Linked DNA regions of Homo sapiens: region 2 is linked to region 1. The links are contacts of gene promoters, found by promoter capture Hi-C in human tissues and cell types (Jung and others, 2019). All regions are on one chromosome and are shown on one strand. Each heading gives the region's core, a stretch centred on a gene start or on the middle of the fragment in contact. The rest is flanking DNA. Distances are from core to core; before and after follow the strand shown. Region 1 holds the start of FBLN5 (fibulin 5). Region 2 overlaps CATSPERB (catsper channel auxiliary subunit beta).

Evidence for each region. The method cuts DNA at HindIII sites, captures the fragments that hold promoters and counts their contacts. A contact is called where the count stands out against the background at its distance.
Region 2: a fragment that was not itself captured here is called in contact with the fragment with the promoter of FBLN5 in region 1 in 3 of the 25 tissues and cell types used here (aorta, lymphoblastoid cells and neural progenitor cells).

The regions. Positions count from the first base shown.
Region 1 is chr14:91,945,450-91,951,291 of GRCh38, reverse strand. It overlaps FBLN5 (fibulin 5), which reads left to right and starts at 3,598. Exons shown (of 11, transcript NM_006329.4): 1 at 3,598-4,079. The coding sequence starts at 4,063. The HindIII fragment of the contact is 12,789 bases long and covers 1-5,842 here.
Region 2 is chr14:91,598,584-91,604,425 of GRCh38, reverse strand. The region is part of intron 22 of CATSPERB (catsper channel auxiliary subunit beta); the gene reads left to right. It also overlaps the pseudogene POLR3GP1 and the pseudogene NANOGP7. Among named protein-coding and RNA genes, the nearest start is that of PPP4R3A, 91 kb to the right of the region's middle. The HindIII fragment of the contact is 7,277 bases long and covers 1-5,842 here.

The sequences.
Region 1 (5,842 bases), core at 2,349-4,848:
CCTCCCGGGTTCAAGCGATTCTCCTGCCTCAGCCTCCCGAGTAGCTAGGATTACAGGTGCACGCCACTACACCCAGCAAATTTTTGTATTTTTAGTAGACGGGGTTTCACCATGTTGACCAGGATGGTCTCAATCTCCTGACTTCGTGATCCGCCCGCGTCGGCCTCCCAAAGTGCTGGGATTACAGGCGTGAGCCACCGAGCCTGGCCGAGAGAAAGATCTTAAACAGTGGATAAAAATGTAATATGGACATATGTAAAACCTTGTGCTTGCTTAAAAATAATTTGCAGTCCAAGTACAGGGTGGAGGAGATGCTGTTACGTAGCCTGTGCATTACAGGTTGCTTTTGTTGGTGCAAATTCAGTATGAATCAAGAGACAGAAACTGCCAGAGGAGATGAACAGGCTGCCTTGGGGTCACAGGGCACATGAGGAGCAGCTGAAAGCCCCTGGGATGTTCAGCCTGGAGATGAGAATAGTAGCGTGGGCGAGGAGTGGAAGGGTAATAGGAAGCTTGTTGTTTCCAAGTTGGGGGGCCCCTGGCTTTAGAGGGGAGAATTAGATTCCATGAACAGTAATTACATACAGGGAAGTGGATTTGGGTTCAACTGAAGAGAGAATTTTCTAACAGTTTGAGTTATTCAATAGTGAGATGGGCTGTTTTGTGGCGCTGTGATTTCCTCGTCCACAGAAGTGGATAATTTACTATTTATTAAGGATATTTTGGAGGGCATTGTGTAGGGAATGGGAACGTGGACACAGTGAAAATCAAGAGGATAACTGTTATTTCATTCCCGCAACAACCCTGGCGATGTTATCATCGCCATCTTGCAGATGAGAAAACTGAGATGTCGAGAGGGTAGGAGGAAAAACCAAGACTTGGACCCAAGTGTTTTATGGCAGTCTTCGTTTTCTCCCCCTTTCCAACCCTACAATTTTAAGATGGAAACAATCTCTCATCCAAGATGGGTCCCGGGACAGTTTTGCTTCCAACGGTCTCAATTTGCCTATGTAGGAAACAGGTATATTGATTTCCTCTCCTTCCGTGTTCTTCAAGAAGGTTGACAGTATCTGCGAGGTGAATGGACTGAGTCCCTTAAAACTCTTCCTACCCCCACAACTAGTTCTACATCAGATATTTTAAGTTTTATTATTTTGAATATTACTCATATTTTGAATAGGTAATACAGGTACAAGGTACAAAATTCAAGTTATGCCAAAAAGTGAGCAATGAGGAGCGAATTTTCCTCTCCTATTTCTTTTCCAATTGTCTGCCTGATTTCCCTCCTAGGAGATGGTTACAGACCATATGTTTAAACCCCCAGATTCATATGTTGAAATCTGAATCCCCAAGGTGATGGCTCTAGGAGATGAGGCCTTCAGCAGGTGATTAGATCATGAGGGTGAAGCTCTCACGAATGGGACCAGTGCCCTTATAAAAGGAATCCCAGTCTCTGGCCAGGCGCGGTGGCTCAAGCCTGTAATCTCAGCATTTTGGGAGGCCGAGGCCCATGGATTGCTTGAGCCCAGGAGTTCAAGACCAGCCTGGCCAACATGGCAAAACCCCATCTCTACTAAAAATACAAAAATTAGCCAGGCACGGTGGTGCGTGCCTATAATCCCAGCTACTTGGGAGGCTGAAGCAGGAGAATTGCCTGAACTTGGGAGGTAGAACTTGCAGTGAGCCGAGATTACACCACCATACTCCAGCCTGGGCGAGAGAGTGAGACTCCATCTCAAAAAAAGGAACCCTAGTCTCCCTCTCTCCATCATGTGAGGACATAGCAAGAAGACAGTCATCTGCAACCAGGAGAGGACCCTCATGAGAACCTGGCTATGCCCACACCCTGATCTCAGACTTCCAGCCTCCAGAACTGGGAGAGATAAATGTTATTGCATAAACCACCCAGTCTATGGTATTCTGTTATAGCAGCCTGAGCTAAGACCAATAATACTCATGGTTTCTTGTGCATCCTTCAGGTGATGTCTTTTCTGTACGTGTACAAGCAAGAACTTATGTATTTATTTTTTTTCCCACAAATGATGGCATGCTTTACACACAGTTCTGCAGCTTACTTTTTACATTTATTACTATATTAGATCAATCTATGTGAAATTACCAATATTCTACTGTTTTGACCCACAAAATATATTGGAAACCCTTCAATAGCAGTGCATACGGAGCTGTTTCAGTCTTTTTTTCAAAATAAGATATAACATACATAAGACTTCACAAATATTAAATGTACACACCCCTACATAACCAGCATCCAGATCAATCATTAGATTATTACCAGCACCCAGAAGGGGCTGGGCTGCCTCCCAGTCACTATCTGACTTTGAATTTTATATAAATGGAGTCGTTTGATGTGGACTCTTAAGTGTCTAGGTTTTAATTGGTTGCACAATAGTCCCTTTGGAAGCCCCTTACTTTATTTAACCCTATTGGTGCCTTGCTGATCGACCTTAAAGGTGTTTATAATCTTTTGCTTTTACAAACAATGGGGGGATGAACAACCTTATAAACATAAGGTATTTAAAAAAGTGTTTTACAGGAAATTTCAAACACGTAAAAGGAAATAGATTAGACTAGTATAATGGACACAGCTTCAACAACTATCCACATTCTGTTATTCTCCTTTGGGTAGAATTCCATTTACTTACCCCCAAAAATGCCTTAGGGAAGGCTAAATATGTAGACTCCAGAGGCTCAGCTGTACCAATGAATAGCTGCGTGACTATGGGGAGGTTACCTAACCTCTCTTATCTTCACCTCTAATAACATGGAGATGATCATTCCTACTGCTTAGAGTGGTGGTGAGGACAGGGGACCTGGATCAGGGCTTTTCGGCTGCAGGTAGGAAGATGCAGGTGGAAGCAGATGGGATAGGCCACAGTCCATCCACTGGCGTTTTATAGAGTGAGTGCCTTCTGTAAGATTTCATTGACAAAAGTACTCCAATGGCTTAAAAACAAACAAACAAACAAACAAACAAACAGGAAAAAGAAACAGGTTGAAGCCTCCACTAGAATGAATGCAAAGGACTCAGCATGTCTTATGTGCTGTCTCCACCATTCTGCTTTTCCAGACTGTCCCTTCTTCAAATCACCGTTTAACTTGTTAAAATCACTTTCGAGCCAGGGGACACTTTTCCAGGAAAGCGAGAAAATGCCAGGGAGAATCGGGGAATGAGGGCGGGGAGAGAAAAGCGTCCTAAGACTTGCATTGCACAAGCTGAAGTCTGGAATTCGCACCAGCGGGATTCCATCCTCTTCCCCCCCACCCCACCCCGCTGCTCCCCACCCCTTCTTCGGGAAGATCGCGACTCTCCCGTCGCTCGCCCCAAGCCTCTGCTTCGTAGGTTCTGGTTTCCCAATCGATCGTGAGTTTCTAGTCCCTGGAGCTGCGTGGGTCGTGAGTTCAAGTCCCTTTCCTTCCGGAGGCGACAACGTTCTCGCGGGTCCCCTTGCCACGCAGCGCGGGCGTGCACGCCCCTCCCCGCCGGGCCGCGCTGCCAGCCCCGCCCCGCCCCTGGGTGGGAAGGTCAAGGGGCCCGGGCCCTCCCAGCCCCCGCACCCCTGCGCGCGCCCGCCCCTCGCCTTCTGCCCGGGCGCTCGCAGCCGAGCGCGGCCGGGGAAGGGCTCTCCTCCCAGCGCCGAGCACTGGGCCCTGGCAGACGCCCCAAGATTGTTGTGAGGAGTCTAGCCAGTTGGTGAGCGCTGTAATCTGAACCAGCTGTGTCCAGACTGAGGCCCCATTTGCATTGTTTAACATACTTAGAAAATGAAGTGTTCATTTTTAACATTCCTCCTCCAATTGGTTTAATGCTGAATTACTGAAGAGGGCTAAGCAAAACCAGGTGCTTGCGCTGAGGGCTCTGCAGTGGCTGGGAGGACCCCGGCGCTCTCCCCGTGTCCTCTCCACGACTCGCTCGGCCCCTCTGGAATAAAACACCCGCGAGCCCCGAGGGCCCAGAGGAGGCCGACGTGCCCGAGCTCCTCCGGGGGTCCCGCCCGCGAGCTTTCTTCTCGCCTTCGCATCTCCTCCTCGCGCGTCTTGGACATGCCAGGAATAAAAAGGTGGGTTCTCGGCGCTGGACTTTTCTTTCTCCAGGGTCTGGAAGCCTTGCTAAAAATCCGATGGGTGGAAAATGGTTATGGCTGCGATTCAGGCGGTGTCAGGATATTGGAAAAGGCATGAGCTAGTGATGCAATGATATTGTTAATTATAAAAAGCTGCGCCTCTGTAATTTCCATCTTGAAGCGTTCTTTTGGGAGTGGGTATTTTCTAATACAGTTTCAAAAGCCAGCATCAGAGAGGGCTGCGAAATTCTCAGCGCTTCATTCCTCTTTCTTTTCTGGAAAGGGCAGCAACTTTGTCGTTTTAAGGGATTTTTGTATGTATTTTTTAAATTTCGGGAGGCCAATTACTAGTTCACTAGCAATTACTGCGCCGCATCGGCTGATAGACAAGCAGACAGGCTAGCTGAACACCGCGGGGCTGGATTTGCTCTATGTTTGTGTGGGATTCTCACAGAAGTTTCAAGCCAATGAGAAGTGGGAACTGCAGACAGAGATACATGTAAGCAAATGTTTTGCTATTCTTTAAGGAAATTGCAATTACAGTTAAGTAATCCTTAAGTCTTGGAGAACTTTACCTAAATGACACCCACAGTCTTTATTCAGCGAGCTCTTGAAAACATACTGCTTTGAACAAATTAACCTTGTGTGCGTATGTATGTGTCTGTGGGGTGTGTGTGTGTGTGTGTGTGTGCTGAAAACTAAGCTGTAACAATGTCATCCTGGATTGGGGACCAGCACTTCTGTGACAGGCAGTCCTGGTATTTGGTTGGTCTCTCCGGCTTTCCTTGTGTTTCAGGCTGAGGCACAACACCGGCGAACCCACCTGCTTTAGAAAGTTCCCAGGACCGGTTATGAGCACCAACCTGCCTCCCCCCAGCTATTCTTATAGTTAGTTCATTTTTGGAGTTTCCAGGGTTTTTTTTTTTTAATCACAAGGTGCAGCTATTCGTGATGCTGTGAGGCAGTAGTGCTTGGGTATTCTTTCATTTTAGGAAAATCCTATTAGCCTGGAACCTGTTTGGCCCCCAGGACTCAGCTGTGGCTCTTCCAAGAGGCTGGGCTTGAGGCAAGACCTGTCCCAGGGCTGCCTCTAGCCAAAGGGAATGGGGCTGCGGGGAGTAGGGGGAAAGATGGGGTTAGCATGCCTTTTCAACTAGCTCTTGAAGTCCACTGTGTTGCAGTCAGCCTGTTCTTTCTCCAACATAAACGAGACAGGGTTTTATAACCAACTGAAAGGAAACTTCATGTGAAGAAACAGGAAAACATTGAAATTCATAATACACAGACTGGAAAATAAATTTGTTATTGTTCTTTCATTCCTTCCAGATATAAATCTGGCCATGGCAAATATCAAAAAGCCCTGGGATTTGGCTCTGCACTTTATAAGGTCAGAGCTGTCTCCAGCGTTCTAGAATCTGGCTCACCCAGGCACTTACATGAAAACTTGTGGACTCTCAGCGTCCTTATTTTTTGGATTGGGGACTCGATAAAGGAAATGGCCTCGCATCTCCTAAGATCGTATCAGGGCCCTATTCCCTCTGGATGTCAGCTTAACTCCAGGTCCTCTAATACCCAGGGTTGCTGATGCAGATGGGCCATGTGTCCTGAAAGGGAGGGATTATATTGTTGTGGTGCACGTTTGTAGTAACGGGCCCCAGAATTCAGCCATGTCCCCAGGTTCACTGCTCTGTTGAAGAAGCCTTCAAGATCACCTTCTCCAGGAAGTCTTGTTGCTACCCACAGCCTGGTTGTTATGGCAC
Region 2 (5,842 bases), core at 1,835-4,334, 350 kb after region 1:
AACATGCAACCTGAAGATGTGTGAAGAAGAGTGCAATTGACATTAATCAATTTCAGTCTGGGCACTGGCTGAATCCTTCCTCTCCCCTCCTCCCATCCCTCATAGGATTTTTCTTGTTTGGAAACCACATGTTCTGGTTTCCATTATGCCTATCCAGTCAATGTGATGGAGGGTGGGGTATGGTTGGAGTCTAATCAGAGAGATTTCTTTCTTTTTTCCTGTTGGATCTTCCTGGAGAAAAGACAGGCATGTGCCTGTAGTCCCAGCTACTCAGGAGGCTGAGGCTGGAGAATCACTGGAGTTCAGGAAGTGGAGATTGCAGTGAGCTGAGATTGCACCATTGCAGTCCAGCCTGGGTGACAGAGTGAGACTCCATAAAAGAAAGAAAGAAAGAAGAGAGAGAGAGAGAGACAGACAGAGAGGGAGGGAGGGAGGGAGAGAGAGACAAAAAAAAAAAAAATAGATGAAGTTCTTGAATAGACATTTCTCCAGACAAGGTGATATGGTTTGGATCTGTGTCCCCACCAAATCTCATGTCGAATTGTAATCCCCAGTGTTAGAGGTGAGGCCTCATGTATGATGGGGGCAGTCTCTCACGAATGGTTTAGCACCATCCCACTAGTGCTGTTCTCGTGATAGAGTTCTCATGGGATCTGGTGTTTAAAAGTCTGTAGCAACTCCCCCTTCTCTCTCTACCTCCTGCTCCTCCTCCCTCTCTTCCTGCCTCACTCCCTTTTACCTTCTGCCATGATTGTAAGTTCCTTGAGGCATCCCCAGAAGCTGATGCTGCCATGCTTCCTGTGCAGCCTGTGGAACTGTGAGCCAATTAAACCTCTCTTCTGAGGGCAGTGCGCGCTTCTCAGGCTCTAGAGCGGTGGGGTCCTCTGCCTGCACCCCTTCCTTGCTGGCCGGCATTTCAGCTGCAGAGTTTTGCCCACACTTTAAGACTTAGGGAGCAGAATTTGCCCACTCATCTGGTATAACTAGTTCTGATGGCTGGGAATAAAGGATGAGGACGTGCTGCTTATACCTTTAATATTGAGGCTGTTGGATTTAGCAAAGGTAAAAAGTTACCTGATGTAGTGTTGAAACCACCCCCACTATTTCCTGATACAGATTATAAACCAGTGCCACTGAAGACAGGAGAAGGTGAATAATATATGCTGGCTTTGAAACAGGAGTTGAGAGAAACAATGAAAAGAATGCCCTATTTTATTGAAACACCCTCATGAAGAAAGACAAGATATTGAAAGGTATAGTAAAAGATACATGAAGGTATACAAGGAAGAGTGGATACCAGATTGGAGAAGACTTCCAAGAGAGATGATGCCAAGAAATAAATGTAAAAAAGCAGGCCCAAAACCCAAAAAGGCAAAAGACACAGGCAAAGGCACATCACTCACTAATACTGCAGATGTGTTGAAAAAAATTGAGGAATTGGAAAAGAGAGGTGATGATGAAAAATCAGATGAGAAAAGAAGAGAAAGAAGGAAGCAAAGAGAAAAGTAGAGAAGGTGATGATGATGATGACAATGATGCTGCAGAACAGGAGGGATATGATGAAGAAGAGCAAGAAGAGGGAAATGACTACATTAATTCATACTTTGAAGATGGAGATGATTTTGGTGCAGACAGTGATGACAACATGGATGAAGCAACCTAGTAGGCATGAAATTTTTCAAAAAATGTTTTTATGATGCAGCTTCTGAACATTTGGACAGATTTGTTTTATATTTTATTTCTGATAAGGAATAAGTATTTTTATTTTTGTTTTTTTTTGTACAAATATTTGTTACCAAAATATTCAAAACCACTTTGAGTTTACATTCTAGTTACCTTACAAATTAGTCCCTGACACTCTGACATTCCTTCTAAACCCTTCTGCCATCTCTCTTATGTACTCTCGTGGATTTTTTTGTATTATTTGAATATGAATGTGCCTAAATAATTTTTGCTCCCTTAATCTATGTATACATACATTCTTGCTTAACTGCTGATCTTTTCTAAGACTATTGCTAGTCATAATGGATTTCTAGAATTTGAAAGTTGATATAATACAGCACATGGAGCACTTTAAAAACAAACTTGAAAATAATTTTATTTTTTATTTTTACATGGTATGTTCTAGACTACTGCATTATGACTACATAAACCTACCTGACCTCTTACAAGTACAGAATTGTGAGATAGAGGTTTTGTGATGGAAAACATACACACAGGGAAAAATACCAAGCTAAGCAATATAAATTTCACAGCTCACAGCTTAGCCAGTACAAAGAAACTTTCACATGAGGTGAATATTATAAATACTTGAATTTGGGACTAACCTAATACTGTATGATATATGAATTAATCATCCCACTGTAATAACTTTGACATCTTCAAGTAGTTGGGCTTATGAAAAATTTGACTAAGACATTTAATTTTATACTTTATGTAAGTGTGAAATAAGTTCTGATCATATAAATATCACTGTAGAATGCATGTGTGTGAACTCTATGAAGTGAAGTGTGGTGGCCTTTTATGTATGCAAGCTGTACTATTGATTTATATAAAAATGCAAAATGAACTCAGGTCATTTTGAAATTAAGATTAATTTTTTTGTTGTTTAGAGCTAGCTCCCCTAACTTTATATATTTTTGGGGAAAAAATACCTAAAAACCTCAACCTACAAATACTCTCACAAATGCCAAAGATCTTCAAGGAAATTCATATTATGTATTTCAAAAATGATTTATCAATGTGATCTACCAAAAAAAATTTATTTTTCCCCTTTAGGAAGATATTATTATCCTCTAATGTGAGAATCAGATCCCTAGATTCTATTTCTACCTGTACTATTAAACTCAACCTTGAACCTGAGCTTGGTTGTTTCTGTGCCTTAGTTTCTCCACTCGTAAACAATTTCCTACAAAAATTGTGTAAACACCAACCAAAATTTACCATATATATTCATTCTCTTGCCATAAAGATCACTTCTTAATTTACATTTGGCTCTCACCCTCTAAAAATATGTTGTTTGGAGAGTAACTGAAAACACAATTTTAAGAAACATGTTTTCCTCACAAAATATATTGTAATCTGATTTTCCTATCTTGTATTCCTGTGGAAAATTAGAGAAAAAGTGTATTGTCTTGTGCCATTTTGCAACATAACTTTCTCAGGAAAAAGATCACTTTCAATGGCAATACTTTCTTTAGTAATTCAAGATGGGTGTGAGGACCTATTTTATTAATTTAGTGCTATGTTAAGCATTTGTGAATTACTTCTTGTTTAAAGGAAGTATCAAAAAATTTTAAGATTCTAAATGGAATACATGAATAAAGTAAGCCTTAGAGTAGAAACCTCACATAAAGTTGTCATTTGCAGCTGATAATTAACATAGGTGTTGTATTCTCTCAACTCCTTCGTACCAGAGCCAAATACCATTTAGTTCTCAGAAATCTTATCAATATTGTTCTGTTTACTGACTTATCATAAATCTGCAGATAACCACTTGAAACAGGCAAATACACCGAAGGTAAAAGTTATTTCTTTTTTTAGCTTTGAATTTGTGATGACCATTTTAGTCTTGAAGATAGCAGGGCAGCCCCTTGGGGCAAGGATTTACTCTGGGAGGCACCAGCCATCCCCTTTAAGAGCCTTCTTTCCTCCCTTTGGAAGATCTTTTTACCATGTTAAAGTATACTATTTGTGAGAACATGCAGGATTTGCAGGTTGCTTTACCAGCATGAATCTCATTTTTCTGGCTTAAAATCTGAGACAGTGAAATTATTCCATAGGAAAGTGAATGTTATTTTGCAGAATTAGCCTCTTACATAAAAGTATGTGTTGAAGTGTCTTTAAAATTGCTATCGTGAGCAAAACTGTTTGGTTGCTATAATGCTTACTTTTCTGTATGTTTACACATTAAATTCTTACAGAACAAAAACAAACAAACCCAAACCTCTTTTCTTTATAAATTACCCAGTCTCAGGTATTTCTTTATAGCAGTATGAGAATGGACTAATACAGAAGATATATAAACAGCCAACAAGCCCGTGAAAAGATACTCAACGTCTTAGTCATTAGAGATATACAAATCAAAATCACTTGAGATATCCCTTCACAGTCATTAGAATAGCTATAATAATTGCTTTTTTAATGAAAATAATTGTTGGCGAGAATGTGGAGAATCTGGAACTCTCATGCATTGCTGGCAGGAATGCAAAATGGTGCAGCTGTTATGGATATCAGTTTGGTGCTTCTTCAAAAAGTTAAACATAGAATTACTGTATGAGCCAGCCATTTCACTCCTAGATATATCCAAAAGAATTGAAAACATATGTTCAGACAAAAACTTCATAGCAGCATTATTCATAACAGCCAGAAAGTGGAAACAATCAGATGCGCATTAACTGATGAATGGATAAACAAAATGTGCTATATCCATTCAGTGGTGTCAAAGGAAAATATCTTGGGCCCCCAATATCACTAAGGAAAATTCAAGCTGGGAACTGCTTAGGGCAAACCTGCCTCCTTTTCTATTCAAAGTCACTCCTTTGCTCACTGAGATAGATTCATATCTGATTTGCCTCCTTTGGAAAGGCTAATCAGAAACTCAAAAGAATGTAACCATTTGTGTATCACCTTTCTGTGACCTGGAAGCTCCCTCCCCACTTGAGTCTTGGTGCCTTTGCTTCAAGTTGTCCTCCCCTTCCAGACTGAACCAATGTACTTCTTATATATATTGATTGACGTCTCATGTCTCCCTAAACGTATAAAACCAAGCTTTGCCCTGACCACCTTGGGCAGATGTTGTCAGGACTTCCTGCGGCTGTGTCACGGGTGCATCCTCAACCCTGGCAAAATAAAAATAAACTTTCTTTTTTTTTTTTTTTGCTCTGCCGCCCAGGCTGGAGTGCAGTGGCACAATCTCAGCTCACTGCAAGCTCCGCTTCCCAGGTTCACGCCATTCTCCTGCCTCAGCCTCCCAAGTAGCTGGGACTACAGGCGCCCGCCACCACACCCAGCTAATTTTTTGTATTTTTAGTAGAGACGGGGTTTCACCGCGTTAGCCAGGATGGTCTCAATCTCCTGACTTCGTGATCCGCCCGCCTCGGCCTCCCAAAGTGCTGGGATTACAGCGTGAGCCATCGTGCCCGGCCGGCAAAGTAAACTTTCTAAATTAACTGAGACCTGTCTCAGATTTTCTAGGTTCACATTTTGGTAACCACGAAGGGGTTCTGAATGGAGATGCCCCTGACCTTTGACAAATCTCTTATCAGTGCCTGGTACCAGCATGAGCTAACTTTATGGATCAAACCAATACGACAATTTGCTGAGGTCTGAGAGCACCCCTCCAATGAATCCCTGATATCCCAAAATTTGGTCAGTCTGATACACAGACAATAAGGAGGTTTGTTTTGGGAAAGGACTGTTATCTTTGTTTAAAAGCTAAACTATAAACCAAGTTCCTTCCAAAGTTAGTTCATCCTATGCCCAGGAATGAACAAGGACAGCTTACAGGTTAAGAGCAGTATGGAATCAGTTAGGTCAAATCTTTTTCCTTTTTTTTTTTTTTTTTTTGAGACAGAGTCTTGCTCTGTTGCCCAGGCTGGAGTGCAGTGGTGCGATCTCGGCTCACTGCAAGCTCCACCTCCCAGGTTCACGCCATTCCCCTGCCTCAGCCTCCCAAGTAGCTGGGACTACAAGCGCCTGCCACCACGCCTGGCTAATTTTTTGTATTTTTAGTAGAGATGGGGTTTCACCATGTTAGCCAGGATGGTCTTGATCTCCTGACCTTGTGATCCACCTGCCTTGGCCTCCCAAAGTGCCGGGATTACAGGTGTGAGCCACCACG